2 separate regions of the Homo sapiens genome follow, and region 1 is linked to region 2. Evidence: promoter capture Hi-C in human tissues and cell types (Jung and others, 2019). All regions are on one chromosome and are shown on one strand. Each heading gives the region's core, a stretch centred on a gene start or on the middle of the fragment in contact. The rest is flanking DNA. Distances are from core to core; before and after follow the strand shown. Region 1 overlaps TMC1 (transmembrane channel like 1). Region 2 holds the start of TMC1 (transmembrane channel like 1).

Region 1 (4,500 bases), core at 1,669-4,168, 34 kb before region 2:
TAGAAATCACTGAGCCTGAAATTCTATTATGCTGCATGAGCTGAAGTCCAGATCTACCCCTTGGATGAGTGCTTCTCAGCACTTCCCAAATTTGAACAAGGCAGTGCACAATTGTGAGAGTTCATCCAGATAATTCAGGTCAGAATTTCCCTGTGACCCTGGAATCTCAAAAACAATGTAATTGAAATTATTTAACAAACTCATTACTCTATGCTTAGCTACTGAGCTGGGCCACCAAGATGCTAGTGTCCCATGGGAAAGGGAAGAGATTTAACTCACATTTGGTTGGGCTGAGGTAAAGTAAGGAGAGTGATTGGGAATTTTGTTTATGTAAAAGTGTTGCATTTTAATTTAATTTTTAATAGATTTTCCCATGTCTTCATTTATGGAGACAGAAAGAGAGAGAGAGAGAGAAAGAGAGAAAGAGAGAGAGAGAGAGAAATGTTCACCAAATACACAGGCAAATTAGAAATATTTCCTATGTCTTCAATTTGGACAATTATCTTCACTGAAGAAGCATTTTTATTTTATTCCTGGCTGCCCTTACAGTGCCAGGGAAGCCTCTTTCTGTGAATATACTCTGATATCTCACTTATTAAAATAATTGACTCCCAGGAACAATTTCTCATGGTCTGAAGCCTTCCACACTGACCCAGCTGTGGAGGCCACAGAATAAAAGACATCCACTTGGGCTCCAGGTATTGCTCAATGACAATACAAATCAATGAGAAACTAAACAGCTGTTTTTCCTCTTTAGCCTCCCTCACACCAAAACACCGGAAGACTTGAGTGAGCAGATCAATGCCACAGGCAAATGACTCAGTGAAAATCTTGAATGTTTGCTAAGATCTCCTGCAGCATCCCAGGTCAAAGAGGCTGACTCAGAGGGCCCTACTCCCACTGCTGTCCCTGACACACATTGGAGAGGCCTTGAGACATGCTGCCTCTGAAGTCGGTATCATGTGACTCACAACCTAGATCTGGGGGACATGGCTTTAGTGGTGGTGGTGTTTGCCTTTCAGTTCTTAAGAATTTTTTTTTAACAGTTGTTGTCATTTCTTTGTTTAATGATTGTAAAATAAGTGCTCAATATTAAACATTTGGAAAGAACAGAAAGTTTTTTAGAACAGTAGAGAAACAATTATCATAATCCCATCCAGAAGTAATCACTGTAAACATTTGAGTCATTTCTGTTTTTTTGTTTGTTTGTTTTTTTGAGAGTCTCACTCTGTCACCCAGGCTGGAGTGCAGTGGCATGATCTTAGCTCACTGCAATCTTTGCCCCCCGGGTTCAAGCGATTCTCCTGCCTTGGCCTTCTGAATAGCTGGGATTACAGGTGTGGGCCACCACGCCCGGCTATTGTTTGTATTTTTAGTAGAGAAGAGGTTTCACCATGTTGGCCAGGCTGGTCTCAAGCTACTGGCCTCAGGTGATCCACTCGCCTCAGCCTCCCAAAGTGCTGGGATGATAGGCATGAGCCAAGCCACCTGTCCTGTCATTTCTTTTAGACCAGCGTTTCTCAACCTCAAAAAACAATTGACATTTTGGACTGTTTAATGCTGTCAGGGGCTGTCCTGTGCACTGCAGGATGTTCAGCAGCATCCCTGGCCTCTACGTATTAGATGCCAATAGCACTTCACTCCCCAACCCCAGATGTGACAACCAAAAATGTCCCCAGCCATTGTCAAATGTCCCCTTGGAGGTGAAATTGCCCTGCTCAAGAACCAATTTTTTTGTTTGTTTGTTTGTTTGTTTGTTTCCAAGACAGAGTCTCGCTCTATCTCCCAGGCTAGAGTGCAGTGGCGGGATCTGGCTCACTGCAACCTCCGCCTCCCAGGTTCAAGTGATTCTCCTGCTTCGGCCTCCCGAGTAGCTGGGATTACAGGCACGCACCACCATACCTGGCTAATTTTTTTTGTATTTTCAGTAGAAATGGGGTTTCACGATGTTGGCCATGCTGGTTTCAAACTCCTGATCTCAAGTGATCCACCCGTCTCGGCCTCCCAAAGTGCTGGGATTACAGGCATGAGCCACTATGTCCGTCTGAGAACCAATGTTTTAGAGAGTATGCTTTTGGCAAGCAGGAGTGTCTACTTTAGATTTATGTGTGGAAATTTGTGAGACGTTCCTAAGGAGTAAAAGTTGAAGCTTTAATTTCACAAGTAAGCCAGGCACAGTGACTCACGCCTGTAATCCCAGCACTTTGGGCAGCCGAGGAAGGTGGATCACCTGAGGTCAGGAGTTCAAGACCAGCCTGGCCAACACGGTGAAACCCCATCTCTACTAAAAATACAAAAATTATCTGGGTGTGATGGCAGGTTCCTGTAATCCCAGCTACTCAGGAGGCTGAGGCAGGAGAATCCCTTGAACCCAGAAGGCGAAGGTTGCAGTGAGCTGAGATCGCACCATTGTACTCCAGTCTGGCTAACCAAAGCGAAACTCCGTCTCAAAAAAAAAAAAAAATTCACGGGTGAAAAGGCTAACAGAAAGGTGTTTTGCAGAAGGTCACCAAGTGGATTAGGGATTAGGCCTGCCTAGCTTCTGATTTACTGATATTTCCACTCTTCTCTGTGCAACTTTTTTTTTTTTTTTTTTTTTTTTTTTTTTTGCCTTAGTCATAGATTGGTTTTCCTGGGTAACATCATTTAAGAGTTAAGTCCAGGCCAGGTGCAGTGGCTCATGCCTCTAATCCCAGCACTTTGGGTGGTCAAGGTGGGTGGATCACAAGGTCAGGAGTTTGAGACCAGCCTGGGGAATATGGTGAAACCCCATCTCTACTAAAAATACAAAAAAATTAGCCAGGCGTGGCAGCACATGCCTGTAATCCCAGCTACTCGGGAGGCTGAGGCAGGAGAATTGCTTGAATCTGGGAGGCAGAGGTTGCAGTGAGCCAAGATTGCGCCACTGCACTCCAGCATGGGTGACAGAGCAAGACTCCGTCTCAAAAAAAAAGAGTTAAGTCCAGAGGCAAAAGGACCCAAGGAAGCAGTTACTAACATATTCCACTTATTCGCATGGGATTTCTCCTACCATCCACATCATCTGGGTGTGGTGAAAACAAATGAGATAATATCACAAAGAAATCTGTGAGTATGGGCCGGGCGCAGTATCTCACGCCTGTAATCCCAGCACTTTGGGAGGCCAAGGAGGGAGGGTCACGAGGTCAAGAGATCAAGACCATCCTGGCTAACACAGTGAAATCCCATCTCTACTAAAATACACAAAATTATTAGCTAGGCACGGTGGTAGTCCCATCTACTTGGGAGGCTGAGGCAGGAGAATCACTTGAACCCGGGAGATGGAGGTTGCTGTGAGCGGAGAACGTGCAATTGCACTCCAGCCTGGGTGACAAGAGCAAAACTCTGTCTCAAAAAAAAAAAAAAAAAAACAGAATCAAAACTCAGAATTCAGGTCAGGTGCTTTGGCTGTAACTCCAGCACTTTGGGAGGCCGAGGCGGGTGGATCACTTGAGGTCAGAAATTTGATACTACCCTGTCCAACATGGTGAAACCCCTTCTCTACTGAAAATACAAAAGTTAGCCAGGCATGGTGGCACATGCCTGTAATCCCAGCTACTCAGAAGACTGAGGCAGGAGAATCACTTGAACCTGGGCAGCAGAGATTGCAGTGAGCTGAGATTGTGCCATCGCACTTTGGCCTGGGCAGCAGAGTGAGACTCCATCTCAAAAAATAATAATAATAATAATTTCAGAATTCAAAAATATTTAGGAATAAAGGAGCTGAGTAAATTTCAGGAATTTTCTACATTCTTTACTCTCTGGAGACTTTAACTGTCTTTATAGAATATGGAATGTTAGAAAGTAAGAAAGCCCCTTATAAATCACACGATCCAACCCCCTTATTTTACAGATGAGAAAGTGGCATCCACAAAGTCAGATACCAAAGTCCTTTAAGCTTGTGAATGAATGGTTGAAACCAGCTTCCCTGACTTTCACTGCTGAAACTATTCTGTCATGTCCCATTGCTTCTCAGTGCACTGTTACTCTATTACTCTCCTCTAAAATACAAAGGTCAAGCTAGAAACCAGGAAGAGAGAGTAAAATGCTAAGATCAAGATATCACCAAGAAAAAAACACATAGTTTTGCCCTGGTATTTCCAGCGTTCTGTCTTTTGACGAGAAATAACCACTCCTGTTAAAAGTATGCAAATATGTAACTGGAAAGAATTCAGGTCCACATGGTCAACATTTTAAAACCTTGGCTAACTTGGACCTTAGCCCTCTGGAATGCTCAGTAAGCTGGAACAACGCTGGATCTAGAAGTAGCCTGGGGCAAAAATTTAAGGAAAAAATGTTTAACTTGAAAAGTATTTCAGTGGGAAAGAATTGCCCTTAATTATTCAGCAATAAACGATCACAGCTAAGAAAAGCTAAAGACCAAACAGAAGACAACACCCAATAGAATAAATCCGTCAGTGCTTCTGACTGGGGAAAAAAAAGGCACTAATGCTTATAAAAATACCAAGATTTTGAAGAATA
Region 2 (5,210 bases), core at 349-2,848:
CCACTTCATTTCCTAATTTTTCCTCCTCCCTGCATCCCCCCGAGTCTTTGTGAGATGCTCTTCCCTTCACTCCTGCCAGCCCTATGGCATCATGGCATTATCATGGTGTATGGAGAACTTCTGTCTTATCTGTTTCTCCCACTAACCCAGTGGTTTTCAACTGGAGACAATTTTGCTCCTCAGGGGACATTTGGAAAAGTCTGGAGACATTTTTAATTGTCACTTCTGGGGAAGGGGGTTGATACTGTCATCTACTGAGTAGAAGCCAAGGATGCTGCTAAACATCCTACAGTGCACAGGACAGCCCCTCACAAAAAAGGATTATCAGGCCCCAAAGGCCAATAGTGCTAAGGTTGAGAAACTGCACTAGGCTGAGTTCCTTTAAAATATGACCCTATTCAGCGCTGTTCCAGCAGCTCCACAGACAGTGTCCAGTGCCCAGTAGGAAGGAATCCAAACAGTTTTAATATTACATTTGAAATTTTAATTGAAAAACTCTTCTGACAGCTGTATGTTATAACTAATAAGCAATATGACCACATACCACAATTCAAAGGAAAACCAATATCCAGAGGTAAAGGTGGCTTACACCCATCAGTCTTTGACACTTCCTCCTATCTAGTTCTCTGTATTTCTTCCCTTTCTCCTTTTCTCTTGTCCCTGTGCTCACTGTCCCCCTTTACTGTCATGTTTGTTTGAATTCCACTTCAAAATGGGAATTTGAACAGAGTGCAATAAATTGTCCCACATTTGTTTATTTTAGGAAATCATTGCATTTAATTTTAACATTTAAACATATCAATTAGGCCAGGTGCGGTGGCTCACGCCTGTAATCCCAGCACTTTGGGAGGCTGAGGCGGGCGGATCACGAGGTCAGGAAATCGAGACCATCCTGGCTAACACGGCGAAACCCCGTCTCTACTAAAAATACAAAAAATTAGCCGGGCGTGATGGCGGGCGCCTGTAGTCCCAGCTACTTGGGGAGCCGAGATCGCGCCACTGCACTCCAGCCTGGGAGACAGAGCAAGACTCCGTCTCAAAAAAAAAAAAACTTATCAATTACTGGGTGACATGCTGTGCACTGCAAGAAAAACAAAGATAAATAGGAAACTGGGACTATCCTAACTGGGGGAGATTTCTGTAGCAGTAGAAAAGTAGAGGAAATATAGTTTTATTTCACTAATGTGATTAGGGAATATCTCATGGAGAAAGTCTTCGATTTAGGTCTTCACACATGTTTCATAAAGAATGTTAACACACCACACATAGGTAATAATGTTGTCTTTCCTTACCTGGCATCATTATGAGGGCCACTTTTTGGGGCAATGATTCCTAAATTTCAGCAACTCCTGGAGGGCTTGTGAAAGAAAGCACAGATTGCTGGGTTCTGCCCTCATAGTTTCTGAGGCAGTAGGTCTTCGGTGAAATCAGAAAACTGGTGTTTCTTTTTTCTTTTTTTTTTTGTGACGGAGTCTTGCTCTGTCACCCAGGCTGGAGCGCAATGGCGTGATTTCAGCTCACTGCAACCTCCGCCTTCCGGGTTCAAGCGATTCTCCCGCCTCAGCCTCTGAGTAGATGGGAAACAGTCGCGCGCCATCATGTTTTTGTAGAGGCGGGGTTTCACTCTATTGGCCAGGCTGATCTTGAACTCCTGACCTCAGGTGATCCGCCCACCTCAACCTCCTGAAGTGCTGGGGTTATAGGCGTGAGCCACGGCGCCTGTTTGTTTTTTTTTTTCTAATCAGAGGTTTTGCTCTTGTCGCCCAGGCTGGAGTGCAATGGTGTGATCTTGTCTCACTGCAACTTCTGCCTCCCAGGTTCAAGTGATTCTCCTGCCTCAGCCTCCCAAGTAACTGTGATTTCAGGTGCCCGCCACTACACCCGGCTAATTTTTGTATTTTTAGTAGAGGCGGGGTTTTGCCATGTTGGCCAGGCTGGTCTCAAAACTCCTGACCTCAGGAGTTCGGCCTCCGAAAGTGCTGGGATTACAGGCATGAGCCACTGTGCCCGGCCTAGAAAACTGGTGTTTCCAACAAGTCCTTTGGTGCTGCTGGTGCTACTGCGGGCCTTCTGAGGAGACTTTGAGAACCGCTGCATCAGGATTATCAGCCTGGTAACTCCTGGCCGAAGAAATGCACACCCTTCATTTGGCTAAAAGAAAGAATTTCCAATATTCATAAAGAAAACACAACTTGTGGGTTCTCCAAGCAGGAGAGGAAAAATCATGTTCCAGTCTATTCCTGTAACTAATGAAGGGCTCAGGTTTCAAAGGTAAGTTAATTGTCAGACCCACTTTATTGTACCCAGTGTCCTTGGGAAACATAATTATTTATTGGAAATATGTCACAACTAACATAAGTCTTAAAAATTTGTTAAATTAGAAACAAAATATTGTATTTGCTGATATGTTAAAACATAAGGGCCTAACATTTAGAATTGCACTTCTCATACTCACAACATGTACTCAAAATGCTGTTAACATCTACTTTGATGATTGTTTTGGGTTTACTTGAATCTAATGTTTCCATTTAATAATTCCTTTTTTTTCCCCTTTCCTTTTTTCAATCAATCCTTTCTCTTTTCTATGTTCTATATTCATGTTATCTTAGAATTCCATTTTGGCCTTCTAGGTTCTTTACTTCTTCCTCCAGCCTGTCATTTTCATGTCTTCAGTGATTTCTCAGACTTCTCACAGAAAGTTAACCATTTTTGTGCATCTTGAAACTTTTAACCTTTGATTTGAAGATAAATGCTAATAAATAAATATAATTCTTATGAATACATTATGCACAATGTTAAATTCAAAATGACTGACATGTTTCATGCTGTGTGCTATAGATATGCTAAACTTCATTTCAAACAGACTAAATAAAACACATGGAACTACATGCACTTTTTGTGAACAGCATCTTCATACCTGTTGTTTGTTAATGTCAGCAATTATAAGCTTATAGGTGTGTTTTTCAAGTGATCACTGAAAATAAATGTAGTATGTCTATTGGCAGAACCACTCACACCTACTAATTATTTGAAAAACATGCTCAAACACACAGTAGTGCCTTCTAGAGAAAGCATAGTATAGTCCTCCCTCATTTCCAAGGACAAGAATTCATTTCTTTAAGCTTTCTTCACGAAAGAATGCAATAAAAGAGGAGGAAACTGGGACTTGATTGAAGAAATATCTCTACTGGGAGCATGAACTAATAATGAGTGACTCTAAGAAATCTCTCACAGGCATTTTTATTTTTGGCTTTTGTTGTTGTTGTTTGGTTGGTTTTCATTTGTTTTTTATTTTTATTTTTTATTTTATTTTTATTTTTTGAGGCAGAGTCTCGCTCTGTCACCCAGGCCAGAATGCAGTAGCACTGTCGTGGGTCACTGCAGTCTTTGCCTCCCAGGTTCAAGTGATTCTCCTGCCCCAGCCTCCTGAGTAGCTGGGATTACAGGCACCTGCCATCATGCCCAGCTAATTTTTGTATTTTTGTAGAGACGGGGTTTCACCATGTTGACCAGGCTGGTCTTCAACTCCTGACCTCACGTGATCTGCCTGCCTCAGACTCCCAGCTGTTTTTTTATTTTTTAATTTTAATTTCATTTTTTATTTTTTGGGGGACAGGGTCTCACTCTGTCACTCAGATTGGAGTGCAGTGGTGTGATCTCAGCTCACCGCAACCTCCGCCTCCTGGGTTCAAGCGATTCTCCTGCCTCAGTCTCACGAGTAGCTGGGATTACAAGTACACACCACTACCGCCCAGCTAATTTTTGTATTTTTATTAGAGATGGGGTTTCACCATGTTAGCCAGACTGGTCTTGAACTCCTGACCTCAAGTGAGCCACCCACCTCAGCCTCCCAAAGTGCTGGGATTACAGGCGTGAGCCACCGCGCCCAACCTGTTTTTTCTTTTTACCGTCACTAAAACAAAGGCAGCACATGCAATTGTCAGTGCCATTTGGCATCTTAAATTAAGACTGAAGACTGCAAAATCCATTTCCTGTTTTCATCCCCTGCTTAATATGAATTTTTCAAAAGACCACTTCCCCTAAGTTACAATAAGAAAATTAGAAATTAATTTGCTTTATCACAAATGGCTTGCATGCTGAGGCATTGTTTAAATGTGTCTGGTCCTTTCTGATTTTTATAACTTAGAGCTGTAAGTCCTGTCATTTCAGTTTACACCATAGTTTTAGGGACACAGAAATTTAAAAGCGAATGTCCGGAAGGCTCTCTGGAATGCTGGCCTACTTTGCACAACTGAGGGGCTATTGTTCAAATCTTTTCTGTAGTATACATGTTAATATATCTTGGGCTCTTTCCAGAAGTTATTCTGGCTAAAGGACATCGGAAGCACATCTGAGTTCTCATTCTAATAAAGAAAAGAATGTAGTACCAAGGCAGTAGTTGCTTTCTCAGCTGTCTTTACCTCCTCCAATGTTTTACTGGAAAAACCTCCTCATTTATTTATATTTATATACCAATCATGACATCTATCTGGTGATAACCATGTGCTAGGTTTTGTAAGCATTATTCCATTTATTTATTTATTTATTTATTTATTTTGAGATGGAGTCTCGCTCTGCCACCTAGCTTGGAGTGCAGTGGCGTGATCTCAGCTCACTGCAACCTCCACCTCCAGGGTTCAAGCGATTCTCCTGCCTCTGCCTCCTGAGTAGCTGGGATTACAGGGGCACACCACCACACCTGGCTAATTTTTGTATTTTTTGTAGAGACGGGGTTTCACCATGTTGGTCAGGGTGGTCTCAAACACCTGACCTTGTGATCCGCGCGCCTCGGCCTCCCAAAATGCTGGGATTACAGGCGTGAGCCACTGCACCTGGCCTATGTTAAAACTACCTTATGAGCTAGTTATTAGTGCCATCCTCATTTTATGTATGAGGAAATGGAGGTTTGTAGAAGTTTAGTACCTTGCCCAAGGTTGCACAATTAATGAGTGATCAGGGGAGGATTGGAACCCACTTTTGACACCCGAGCCAGAGCCCTTAGGCACCAAGCTGGGCCACCATTCTCCTTACTTCTTTTTTTCCAAGTGTTCTCAATAAAAGTGACCTGCAATTTGCTGATATGGAATTGGAATTCCATATCCTATAATCTGTCAAAAGATGGTACAGAGACAAAAGGATAAAAGGAAGGAGGAGGATAAGAAAAACATGAGCTCTGCCCTGAAATAATGGAAAACTGGACACACATGTTA

Evidence for each region. The method cuts DNA at HindIII sites, captures the fragments that hold promoters and counts their contacts. A contact is called where the count stands out against the background at its distance.
Region 1: a contact is called between a fragment that was not itself captured here and the fragment with the promoter of TMC1 in region 2, in 2 of the 25 tissues and cell types used here (H1 embryonic stem cells and liver).

The regions. Positions count from the first base shown.
Region 1 is chr9:72,554,083-72,558,582 of GRCh38, reverse strand. The region is part of intron 1 of TMC1 (transmembrane channel like 1); the gene reads right to left. LOC101927191 (a long non-coding RNA gene) reads left to right here. Exons shown (of 5, transcript XR_242619.5): 5 at 758-961. Among named protein-coding and RNA genes, the nearest start is that of TMC1, 35 kb to the right of the region's middle. RefSeq lists an enhancer at 62-1,261. The HindIII fragment of the contact is 5,070 bases long and covers 384-4,500 here.
Region 2 is chr9:72,517,996-72,523,205 of GRCh38, reverse strand. TMC1 (transmembrane channel like 1) reads right to left here and starts at 1,598. Exons shown (of 24, transcript NM_138691.3): 1 at 1,293-1,598. The HindIII fragment of the contact is 10,357 bases long and covers 1-4,397 here.